2 separate regions of the Homo sapiens genome follow, and region 1 is linked to region 2. Evidence: promoter capture Hi-C in 16 types of primary human blood cells and fetal thymus (Javierre and others, 2016). All regions are on one chromosome and are shown on one strand. The core of a region is centred on a gene start or on the middle of the fragment in contact, and the rest is flanking DNA. Distances in the headings are between cores, read along the strand shown.

Evidence for each region. The method cuts DNA at HindIII sites, captures the fragments that hold promoters and counts their contacts. A CHiCAGO score of 5 or more calls a contact.
Region 1: a contact is called between a fragment that was not itself captured here and the fragment with the promoter of RABEPK in region 2, in 1 of 17 cell types (M1 macrophages). The highest score is 5.1, in M1 macrophages.

The regions. Positions count from the first base shown.
Region 1 is chr9:125,371,998-125,378,066 of GRCh38, forward strand. No RefSeq gene overlaps it. Among named protein-coding and RNA genes, the nearest start is that of GAPVD1, 110 kb to the left of the region's middle. The HindIII fragment of the contact is 3,508 bases long and covers 1-3,187 here.
Region 2 is chr9:125,197,766-125,203,509 of GRCh38, forward strand. It overlaps RABEPK (Rab9 effector protein with kelch motifs), which reads left to right and starts at 2,777. Exons shown (of 8, transcript NM_005833.4): 1 at 2,777-3,141; 2 at 5,243-5,301. The coding sequence starts at 5,249. It overlaps LOC105376271 (a long non-coding RNA gene), which reads right to left and starts at 2,631. Exons shown (of 2, transcript NR_135145.1): 1 at 2,461-2,631; 2 at 1,768-1,890. RefSeq lists a silencer at 2,655-2,704. The HindIII fragment of the contact is 9,581 bases long and covers 1-5,744 here.

The DNA.
Region 1 (6,069 bases), core at 184-2,683, 170 kb after region 2:
TGGGACTACAGGTGCATGCCGCCACGCCTGGCTAATTTTTTTGTATTTTTTATAGGTGGGGTCTCGCTATATTGCCTAAGCTGGTCTTCAACTCCTGGGCTTAAGCTATCCTCCTGCCTCAGCCTCCAAAAGTGCTGAGATTACCGGTGTGAGCTACCGCGCCTGGACATTATTAATCTTTTATTGTTATAATAGCTTAATGGGAGAAGAAAAGATTGTGGTCTATGCATGTATGAAAATTAAGAAGATCATGTTGTAGATTGATTTGCAGGATTTTTTAAAGGCGCCCTGCCTTTTTTCCTCAGCGGGGTTCTTGAGCATCCATCGGTGATCGGTGGTCGCTTCTCGCAAATCTTCTGTTTCATTTATTTTGGTTGCTAAGTAGGGAGATCCACCTTTATCTGGGTGATTCAAAATCACGATTCTCCTGTGAGCTGCTCTAATCTTAGCCTTGCCAGCAGGTGAACTTACACCTAAAATAACACTAGCTTTTCTCCTACTCATTTTCTGTTCAAATCCTCCTTTGTAATAGGATGACAGGCTAGGAGTTCAAAGGTTCTCTACTGCTTCTGTGATCCTTGTTCTAGAGGTTTCCAGGACTGCGACGCACAGCGACCTGCAAAGGCAAGAGCAGCAGCACCCAGCCCTGCAGCTGTCACAGTTCTTGCCAGTCCCTGCTGGTTGGTATCTGCGTCTGACTGAGGCATTTGGCCAAGGGCGGCAAGTACTCAGTGGGGTGCAGCCCCTTGATGGCAGGGGTGATGCCACCATGGACAGCCAAGAGAACCCATTTTTTTATTTTATTCTAGATTCAGGAGGTACCTGTGCTTGTTTGTTACATGGGTATTACATGCATAATGATGGGGTTGGGTTCCTAGCCTACCCATCACCCAAATATTGGACACTGTACCCAGGAGGCAGTTTATCAACTAACAGGCTGGGTTGTGAGCTCAAGTCCCTTTCCACTGTGGTCATAAACAGTAACCACAGTGGAGTGATTCCTGACACATGATGCCTTTCTGGGTCCAGATACTTTCATCCCTATGTGCCCCACCCTACACGCCTCTTTGTCACTCATGCCTGCCGCTGCCCAGCCTTCTTCCCTGGCCCAGGCTCTGGATTGCCCAAACCTCCTGAGGGGCCCTTGGCAAATGTCTCTTTTGTGTTGTGCGTGTGTGTGTGGCAGGGTCTCACTTTGTCGCCCAGGCTGGAGTGCAGTGGCACAATCTCGGCTCACTGCAACCTCTGCCTCTTGGGTTCAAGCGATTCTCCTGCCTCAGCCTCCTGAGAAGCTGGGACTACAGGTACACGCCACCATGCCTGGCTAATTTTTGTGCTTTTGGTAGAGACAGTGTTTCACCATGTTGGCCAGGCTGGTCTCGAACTCCTGACCTCAAGTGATCTACCCGCCTTGGCTTCCCAAAGTGCTGGGATTACAGGTGTGAGCCACCGCGCCTGGCTGGGAAATGTCTCTTAAACCTGTCCCCCGCTGCCACAGCCAGTTTTTCCACCTCCACAATCACGACTGACTCCTAGTCTCCCTGCCTCCCTCTCACCCCTTCTCCTAGGTGCCCTTAGAATTCATCAAGTCTGGCCAGGCACGGTAGCTCACACCTGTAATCCCAGAAATTTGGGAAGCCGAGGTGGGTGGATCACCTGAGGTCAGGAATTCGAGACCAGCCTGACCAACATGGAGAAACCCCGTATCTACTAAAAATACAAAATTAGCTGGGCGTGTTGGTGAATGCCTATAATCCCAGCTACTCGAGAGGCTGAGGCAGGAGAATCACTTGAACCCGGGAGGCGTAGGTTGCAGTGAGCCAAGATCACGCCATTGCACTCCAGCCCGGGCAACAAGAGCAAAACTCCACCTCAAAAACAAACAAACAAAAAAATTCATCAAGTCTGAGCAGATTCCTCTTCTGCCTAAAATCTTCTCTTTTCTACCTGGGTTCTGTCCTGCCTTTTCAGCCACATGCCTCTGGTCCTTCTCCTTCCCCTCCAGCCAGCCCCACTCCAGCCACTGAGAACTATCACCTTTCCCAAAGTGCTGCCCTTTGCCGGCCTCTAAGCCTTTGCTGATGCCCAGATCTGACTGCCTCCCCCACAGTCCTTCCTCCTGCCTCAGATGGCCCTTCTGGAGGAAAACCCCAGGTGCCCCCTCCTGCCTCCCTCCTCAGTGAGGCCTCACCCCCATCCCTCCCTCTCCAGAGCAGTGTCTCCCTGGAGCCTGTGCTCCTAGGGGAGGGCATGCCTCCAAATGGCAGGTGTCCCTAATGTTTGCAGATGGGGATGGATGAGAGGCAGAAAGTAGCCCTTCAGGGCGGGGATTCCACCATCTTTTCCTTCCAAATTCAGGCCCTGCTGGGACAGGAACTATCCCTGTCGTGGTCCAGGGCCAGGTAGTTCTTCACGTCCTCTGGGAAGACAGAGTGCCCCAAAGCCCTTGATCTCCAGTGGGTAGAATTAGGTGGGGCAGAGGCTGTGCCACACCAGGTCACACCTCTCCTGTGTCTGCTCCCACCCCACCAAGCACAGGGCCGGGATGAGGATGCCTGGAGCCCAGCTCAGTGCCTGCCTGGGTTGCAGCCCTGATCACACCAAAGTGTCTTGTCTGTTTGCAGCCCTTTATCTGGCTAGCAGGGTTTAATTTTACTCTGGGAAGGTGGGATTTTTGTCCCTATTTACTTATTATTTTCGAATTTATTATCTTTAGGTGGCATCTACAAATCGGCGTCCTCTGAGGGCAACAGCGCCCCGTTCTGCTAGAAATCCCGAGATTTGCAGCCACTGCAGCACGCTGCCTCTGCGGCTTCTCCGCACCATCCCCGACCCCTTCCCCCGCGAGTCTGCCGTCGGCCAGTTTCCTCCCAGGCCCCGGCTTTGCTGTTCCTTGGGTGACATCTTGTGGCCAAGGACAGGTACAAACCATTGGCTGAAAAGGAGGAGCAAAGGCAGCCCTCAGCCCTCTCTGGAGGAGCCTTGGGGCGCCTTCGAGGATGCCCAGGAGGGCAGGGGGCTCCTGAACAGGGAATCGGCTCTCAGACCCCGAATGGGCTTGCACCAAGCCCTTCATGAGACAGCTGTGGCTGGAGCCCAGAATTCACCCAGGCCCCCCGAGGCAGACACACCAGGTTCCTCTCTGCCCACCCTGCGTTGTGGCAAATAATCATTATTCCCGATATAAAGCTTTTCTCTAGCAGCCCAACGACAAGGTTATTATTCCAATCTTACAGATGCAGCAACAGCCCTGAGCCACAGCCAGTGACCTGAGCCCAGCCCACAGGTGCCAACACTGTAAGATCTCACTGGACACAGTCCTGAGAACTGTGGGAGCCACCTGTCCCATTCTCTGGGAAGGTGCTCTGGGGAGGCGCCTGTGTTGTTAGTCATGGCCATGCCTCGAGTTCCAAAACCTTCTTCATGGCCTGGCATGGTGGCTCACGCCTGTAATCCCAGCACTTCGGGAGGCCAAGGCGGGCGGATCACTTGAGGTCAGGAGTTGAGATCAGCCTGGCCAACATGGTGAAACCCTGTCTCTACTAGAAACACAGAAGTTAGGCCGGGTGGTGGTTCACACCTGTAATTTCAGCACTTCGGGAGGCTGAGGCGGGCAGATCACCTGAGGTCAGGAGTTCAAGACCAGCCTGGCCAACATGGTGAAACCCCATCTCTACTAAAAATACAAAATTAGCTGGGCATGGTGGCGCGTGCCTGTAAACCCAGCTACTTGGGAGGCTGAGGCAAGAGAATCACTTGAACCCGGGGGGTGAAGGTTGCAGTGAGCCGAGATCTCGCCATTGCACTCCAGCCTCGGCAACAACAGTGAAACTCCATCTCCAGAAAAAAAAAAAAAAAAAAAAAGAAACACAAAAGTTAGCCTTGGTGTGGTGGCGTGCACCTATAATCTCAGCTACCTGGGGGGCTGAGGCAGGAGAATCGCTTGAACCTGGGGGGTGGAGGTTGCAGTGAGCCGAGATTGCACCACCACACTCCAGCCTGGGTGACAGCGAGACTCCGTGTGCAGGCCCGGGGCTGACGCTTCCCACATGACGTCACAGAGCCTTCACCTGGTAGTGGGCATTGTAAGGGCTGCACTTCACAGATGAGGAAGCCGAGGCTCAGACATGCAAAGGGGTTTATTCAAAGCCACATAGAAAATGCATGGCAGAGCCAGGATCCAAATCCAGGTCTAGAGGATGCCCAAATCTGTACTTTTAGCTACTGAGGGATCCTGTCTGCCCTCTGCAAAACCAGCCCCACAGCATTGTGAGGGCTCATGTGAACTGGGGAGCAAACTGTAGAGGATGGTGCCCACAGCAGGTCCTTATTATCCTGATCCTGGTGTTTACTTCCCATGTGCACTCGAGTCCGTCAAGGGCAGGGCCAGACACCCGGGCATCTGTAGTGCCAGCATGAAGCCTGGTGCCCAGCCGGCATCAGCAGATCAGATTGAATTTGAGCTGCCAGAGCAGGGAAGACCTGCTTTTCCACACGGGGCCCAGGGCCACTTCCCAGTGTCAAGGTCATGGTAAGGACAGACCGACAGTCTCCACCTCCTGATTCAGGAGGAGAAGGGGTGGGTGACCCACGCCTCCTCTTTGCAGCAGGCTGGCACCTGGGCTCGCAGGCAGGGCCCAGAGGGAGGAGGCCTGGCGCTGAGGATCCGCCGCAGGCCCGGGAGGAAGCAGCAGGGCAGGCGGAATATAAATGCGGCTGTGAAGGCAGAGGAACAGATGAGGGAAAGCCTCCAGGTGATTGGGTGGAGAGGCCCCGCCAGGGCGGATGCCTCCTCTCTGTGCACAGACTGAGCCCATGATGAAGATGAATGGAAACCCCTTTGCTGGAAAACATGTGGGTAATCAAGAAGGCTACCGGTGCCGAGGGGCCCTCCCACCTGCCCGGAGCAGGGGAATATTAGGATTTGGAATTTCAGCAGCAGCCACATAGTTAGCACGGAAACTAGGCAAAACTGATATGCAGCCACCATTACAGGATAAATGGTGCAGGGCGCCTGGTAGCTTGGCAGGAGTTAGTGGACTCCAACTGCAGCTGTGGGAATCAGGCAGCTGCTTTCACAAAAGAAAGGCAGCCCGGGTTGGTGAAGACCCAGGGCCCAGCTTCCCACCCCTCCGTAGGGTGGCGTTAGCCACCAGACTTTCCTGCTGGTGGTTGTGGGATTCTCTTCAAGGCTGGTTCAGGGAGGGGATGGGAGATTGTTCTGGGGGTTTCTTAGCATTTGCCAACAAAAACTGAGCTTGCAGCGTTCAGCTCCCACCTGGGAGGCAGGACTGATGAAGACACTGTGTCTCCATCTTTCCAGACCAACAAAATCCCAATTTTTCTCAATATGTCCACGGCAGAGCGATACGTGATTATTTGGTCGCATGCACGGTGGACCAGGAAGAGAGGTTTGCTGAGTCAATGAATACTGTCGACAAGTTTGCAGGGGGCATGTTTAACTCACTTCAGGTGCTCTGGAAGCATTCGCACGATGGCTAAGCTAATTACAAATCACGCCTATTTATTCATTAAACAGGGCTTGGGGGAAATTCAAAGAGGCAACACTGCCTTAACATCATTCAATTTGCAGTCTGTGATTAAACGGAACACAGCTGCAAGACTCCAGAAATGTTGCTAATTTCTGCCTTTTCCCTGGTTCGGACTGACTTGTTCTCTGGGGGCTACACCTGTCCTTAAGTGGGGTCTTGTCATCCTTCAGCCCCTCAGCGGCTCACTGGCTGCTTGTGATGCTGGGCAAGTGCCTTCACTAGCCTGTGTCTCAGTTTCCTCATCTGTAAAGCGGGCTCACGAGCTCCTGGCTGCCAGGATTCCTGCAAGGAATAAGGGACACGTTGGATGTTCAGTGTTCCTTCTGGAACCCTGCTAATAGCTGTGTGCTGAAGTGTCCTTCTATGTCTTCCTCCTTGGCCCTTGTACACACATAGGCTGTCACAAAGACAGAGGCCCCAGGGTTCCCCAGACAGCCCATGACAAGCAAAGGCTGTAGCTGCTGCTCCCTTAGGGCTCCAGCATGGAGCCTGGCAGGCAGAGGCTCCTTGCCCAGCG
Region 2 (5,744 bases), core at 1,527-4,026:
AAATAAATAAATAGGTCCCGCAGTGAAAACTGGCTGCTATTTTGCCCACAAACCTCTTCCAATTTTTCTTGTTGATGTGCCACTCCAGCATGGCACCTTGAAACAGAGCTAGCCAGAAAACACCGGGGACATCAGAGCATTCTGCAGCTGTGAGCAGAAATGTACGTGGAGATGCACATGGACATATGGCAGAGCTAACCTGGACTTGGTTTTCTTTCCTGAAGGAGAGCAGAATGACTGAATATCCCTAAACTTCTCTTTGGCAGACAGTCAATGGGGATTTTTCCACTAAAGTGGGAACTCACAAAGACTCCATATGTTTGAAAGAGCCGCAGACCTTGAATTCCATTTTGTCAATAAATTTTGGTTATGGTTTCAAGTAGCTAAAATATTCCTTTCACCAACCTGGCCTTTCACCTGTATTAGCACATCCTCTGAACAGTTCTGTCTGCACAGCAGGTAATACTATCATCATTCTATAGATGAGGAACTAGGGTTCAGAGTGGGTAACTTGCCAAATGTCAGAGTTAGATGGTTAGTGCTGGACCCTGGATTTTTTTTTTTTGACAGAGTCTTGCTCTGTTGCCCCGGCTGGAGTGCAGTGGCACGATCTCGGCTCACTGCAACCTCCACCTCCTGGGTTCAAGTGATTCTTCTGCCTCAGCCTCCTGAGTAGCTGGGATTACAGGCAAACGCCTGGCTGATTTTTTTTTAGACAGAGTCTTGCTCTGTTGCCCAAGCTGGAGTGCAGTGGCATGATCTTGGCTCACCACAACCTCTGCCTCCCGATTCAAGCAATTCTCCTGCCTCAGCCTCCCGAGTAGCTGGGACTATAGGTGCGCATCACCGTGCCTGGCTAATTTTTGTATTTTTAGTAGAGATGGGGTTTCACTATGTTGGCCAGGCTGGTCTTGAACTCCTGACCTCGTGATCTGCCCTCCTTGGCCTCCCATAGTGCTGGGATTACAGGCATGAGCCACCACACCCAGCCTGGAGCTTGGATTTTAACCCAAGTATGTTTGATCTCTTCCCACTAAGCTACCATAGCTCTATACTCCAGGAGCTCCTGTTTCTAACCTGAGCTGTTTTCTCTATTTTCTAGGACACAGCGACAGTTTCAGAGACTGGAGTTCTTTGAAACAGACATAAGAGAGCAAGCCACCTCTCTATTTTCAGGAAAGACACAGAGAACCTATGGTTATGAACTAAAACAAAGATAATGTAGATTCTGAATATGTCTAGAGACATTGTTCATTTATAGTCAGGAATAGCTTTACCCTTGACAGAGAACTCTGTGCCAGCTGCTGGGTGCTGAGCACTTTTATTTACATTATGTCATGTATTCCCCACCACAACTACTACATACATCTCTCTTTTTTTTTTTTTTTTCTTGAGACGGAGTCTGGCTCTGTCACCCAGGCTGGAGTGCAGTGGCACTATCTCGGCTCACTGCAACCTCCGCCTCCCAGATTCAAGCAATTTTCCTGCCTCAGCCTCCTGAGTAGCAGGGATTACAGGCGCCCACCACCACGCCTAGCTAATTTTTGTGTTTTTAGTTGGGGGGGGGGGCGGGGGCGTTCACCATGTAGGCCAGGCTGGTCTCGAACTCCTGACCTCGTGATCCGCCCGCCTCGGCCTCCCAAAGTGCTGGACTTATAGGCGTGAGCCACCGCGCCCAGCCTATGATAGAAATCTTATTAGCTCCATGGTTACAAACAGACAACCCTGAGGCCTGGAGGAAAGTAACTTCAGAACAGATACTCTCCTGGCTGAACTTTATATTTATTGCACTCTTGGCAGTCGTCCCTAGTTGTCTTTTTCTTTGATCTCTCTCTAGTTAAGACTTGCTCCTGGAGGCAAAGCGTGGTGGTGTCTGGCTCAGCATAGCACCTGCCATAATTACAAATGGCAATTATGGAATGAATCAGCTGTTTAAAGCACCAAATCTTGAGCTGGCCCGAAGACTGCGCAGGAGGATTGCATGCTCAACTCTCCCCTTTAGAAACTGTTAACAATCGTTGTGGCCGGGCGCGGTGGCTCACGCCTGTAATCCCAGCACTTTGGGAGGCCGAGGCGGGTGGATCATGAGGTCAGGAGATCGAGACCATCCTGGCTAACAAGGTGAAACCCCGTCTCTACTAAAAATACAAAAAAAATTAGCCGGGCGCGGTGGCGGGCGCCTGTAGTCCCAGCTACTCGGGAGGCTGAGGCAGGAGAATGGCGTGAACCCGGGAAGCGGAGCTTGCAGTGAGCCGAGATTGCGCCACTGCAGTCCGCAGTCCCGCCTGGGCGACAGAGCGAGACTCCGTCTCAAAAAAAAAAAAAAAAAACAATCGTTGTAACTGGAAATGTAACTGTTATACCCTCCCCCCCTTTTATTTATTTATTTTTTTGAGAGGGAGTTTTTGCGCTGTTGCCCAAGCTGGAGTGTGGTGGCGCCCAGCCCTGTTAGCCCCTTACAGAGTAGATCAGCTGCCGCAGGCATCTGAGTTCCCCAAACGGACGCCCGAACCCGGCATTGCGCAAATCGTTTCCAAGTAGCCCCGGCTTATTTATCCCGTCCGGGAGGGAGGGACCCAGGGAAGGCCCACCCCACTTGGTTCCCGAGAAATGCAGAGCCTGGCGTCCACTCCCGGTCTGGGGGACCCCTCCACCGCCAGCCCAGGAAGTCAGCGCCGGGCCCTCGGGGCGGAGCAGGGAAGAGGGAGCGGTTGGCCCGGACGCTCTTCCGGGTCCTGGGAGGAGGGCCCGGACCTAAGCCCCGCCCCTCCGGGGTGGAGTCACGGCTCGCGACTGGCCTAAGTCGCCGCAGGTATTGCAGTCCGGGGCTGGAGGGTAGGGGCGAGGGTCCCCGGATACCGGGTCTATCACGGTCTCGGGCAGGGAGTCTGAATCTTTTAGGGGAGTGGGCCCAAGCCGGGTGCAAAGAACGGGGAAGGGCCTTCCCTGGCTCCGTCCCGGCCACTTTGACCGAATCAGCCTGTTCTTTCCCGACCCCGTCTCCTATCCCCTAGAACTGCCACGTGGGGATGAGATTTGCTGGGCTGGTAGCGGCGGCTGCTGCGGGAGGTCCCGCCCACGTGAAGCCAGCCTAACTGAGCTCTGGACTTTGGGGACAGCTGTCAGTGGCCTAGGCCGCAGGTGAGATTTATCCATTCATCTCTCAATCTATTTTCTTTCTTCATTCACTAGCCACTCCCCCACTTCTACTCCATGCCAGGTCCATTGGTAGGTTCTCGGAATGGATCTGACAGGCCCAGCCCTCTAGGAACTTAGTCTAGTGGAATTTAATCTAGAATCTAGTCTAGAAGCCTTAAATAGATAAACATTCCAAATGATTCCTGCAATGGTGATGGCTAATACCTTCAGAGCCCAGTGGGTGGAAGAAGGAAGTAACTTGGATGTGGGTGGAAGAGAAAAGGGCAAATCAGGGAAGGTTTCACCAGGGAAGGGACTTTTGAACTGGGCTTTGAAGGTTAACTAGGAGTTTGCAAATTTCCCAGAAGGGAAGCGACATTCCAAATAGGGGAAGCAGAACAGGCTGCAAAATTATGAAAAGGCCTGCCATATTACAAGAACAGCAAAAAAACCAATAATGCAAGAGATTGTGGAGGTGAGTTCACGGGAAAAAAGCTCAACAGCAGAAGGCCTTACTTTCTATGCTATGTTGAGGCCAAGATTTATCCCAGAGCTCAGTATTTCTCAGCTTCTTTAAATATTTTGTCCTTTGAGCGGAGAGCAGTGGCTCACACCTGTAATCCCAGCTTTTTAGGAGGCTGAGGTGGAAGAATTGCCTGAGGCTAGGAGTTCGAGACCAGCCTGGACAACAAAGCGAAACCTCCATTTCTATTTTTTTTTCTTTTTTTGAGGAGGAGTCTTGCTCTGTCGCCAGGCTGGAGTGCAAGTGGCGCAATTTCGGCTCACTGCAACCTCCGCCTCTTGGGTTCAAGCAATTCTCACGCCTCAGCCTCCTGAGTAGCTGGGACTACAGGCGTGGGCCACAACGCCCAGCTAATTTTTTTTGTATTTTTAGTAAAGACAGGGTTTCACCATGTTGGCCAGGATGGTATCGATCTGACCTCATGATCCGCCTGCCTCGGCCTCCCAAAGTGCTGGGATTACAGGCGTGAGCCACTGCTCCCAGCCCCGTTTCTATTTTTAATTAAAAAATAAATAAATGGCCGGGCTCAGTGGCTCACGCCTGTAATCCCAGCACTTTGGGAGGCCGAGGCGAGCCAAGTTCAAGACCAGCCTGGCGAACATAGTGAAACCCCATCCCTACGAAAAATACAAAAAAAATTAGCCAGGTGTGGTGGCACTTGCCTGTAGTCCCAGCTTACTCTGGAGGCTGAGGCAGGAGAATAGCTTGAACCCGGGAGGCAGAGGTTGCAGTGAGCTGAGATCCTGCCACTGCACTCCAGCCTGGGTGACAGAGTGAGACTCCATCTCAGAAAAAATAAAAATAAAAAATAAAGCCAGGCACGGTGGCTCATGCCTGTAATCCCAGCACTTTGGGAGGCTGAGGCGGGCAAATCACCTGAGGTCAGGAGTTAGTGACCAGCCTGGCCAGTGTGGTAAAACCCCGTCTCTACTAGAAAAGCTAGAAAAATGAGCTGGGCGTGGGTGGGCACCTGTAATCTCAGCTACTCAGGAGGCTGAGAAAGGAGAATCATTTAAACCTGGGAGGGGAAGGTTGCAGTGAGTGGAGATTGCACCACTGCACTCCAACCTGTGCAACAGAGTGAGACTCTATCTAAAAATAATAATAAAGATAAATACATAGGCCAGGCACGGTGGCTCACACCTGTAATCCCAGCACTTTGGGAGGCTGAGGCGGGTGGATCAGCTGAGGTCAGGAGTTCGAGACCAGCCTGACCAACATGGTGAAACTCCATCTCTACTAAAAATAGAAAAATTAGCTGGGCGTAGTGGCACATGCCTGTAATCCAAGCTACTCGGGAGGCTGAGGGAGGAGAATCGTTTGAACCTGGGAGGCAGAGGTTGCCATGAGCTGAGATCTTGCCATTGCACTCCAGCCTGGGCAACGAGAGCTAAACTCCATCTCAAATAAATAAATAAATAAATAAATAATAAAAATAAAGATGAAAAGTTGGTGATTCTTATTCAAATCAATCAGGCCTAGAAATTAGTACATTCAACAGGAAAGGTTTAAAAAGGAGGTTGAATTGATTAAGATGATAATCATAAGTGTCTAAAAAGTGCCTTTCTTTCTTATGCATAGGACACCATGAAGCAACTGCCAGTCTTGGAACCTGGAGACAAGCCCAGGAAAGCAACATGGTCTGTAAGGAAGGATCCAGACACAGAAAAGCATGAGTTTTTGTTTCATTTATAAGTAGTTTATTTACATATTTGATCATCAACAAAAAGGGGTAGAGATGAAACTGTCTGCAGTTTCTGGTAATTAGACTCAAACTGTCTGAGAAAGTCTTCAGAGGAAAGATAGGGGGGCAGTAATTATCACAGAGCAGATGTTAATTTTATTAAAATCCATTTACCAGAAAGAGTAAGGCACTGACCATCTGGCATCCTCAGCTCCAATGCTGTGTCTTCCCCCGAGCTCTGACTCATTTTTAAGATTTTTAGGAAATTAGATTTGGATTAAACTGGCTTCACTGTTTCTTGGCTGTTTGTTCAAACAACCCTTTATTCAACAACTAACATTGGCCTGATGGGGGCAGCTGCTCTGTGGGTGCTGGAGGTAGAATTGTAAATAGTCTCTG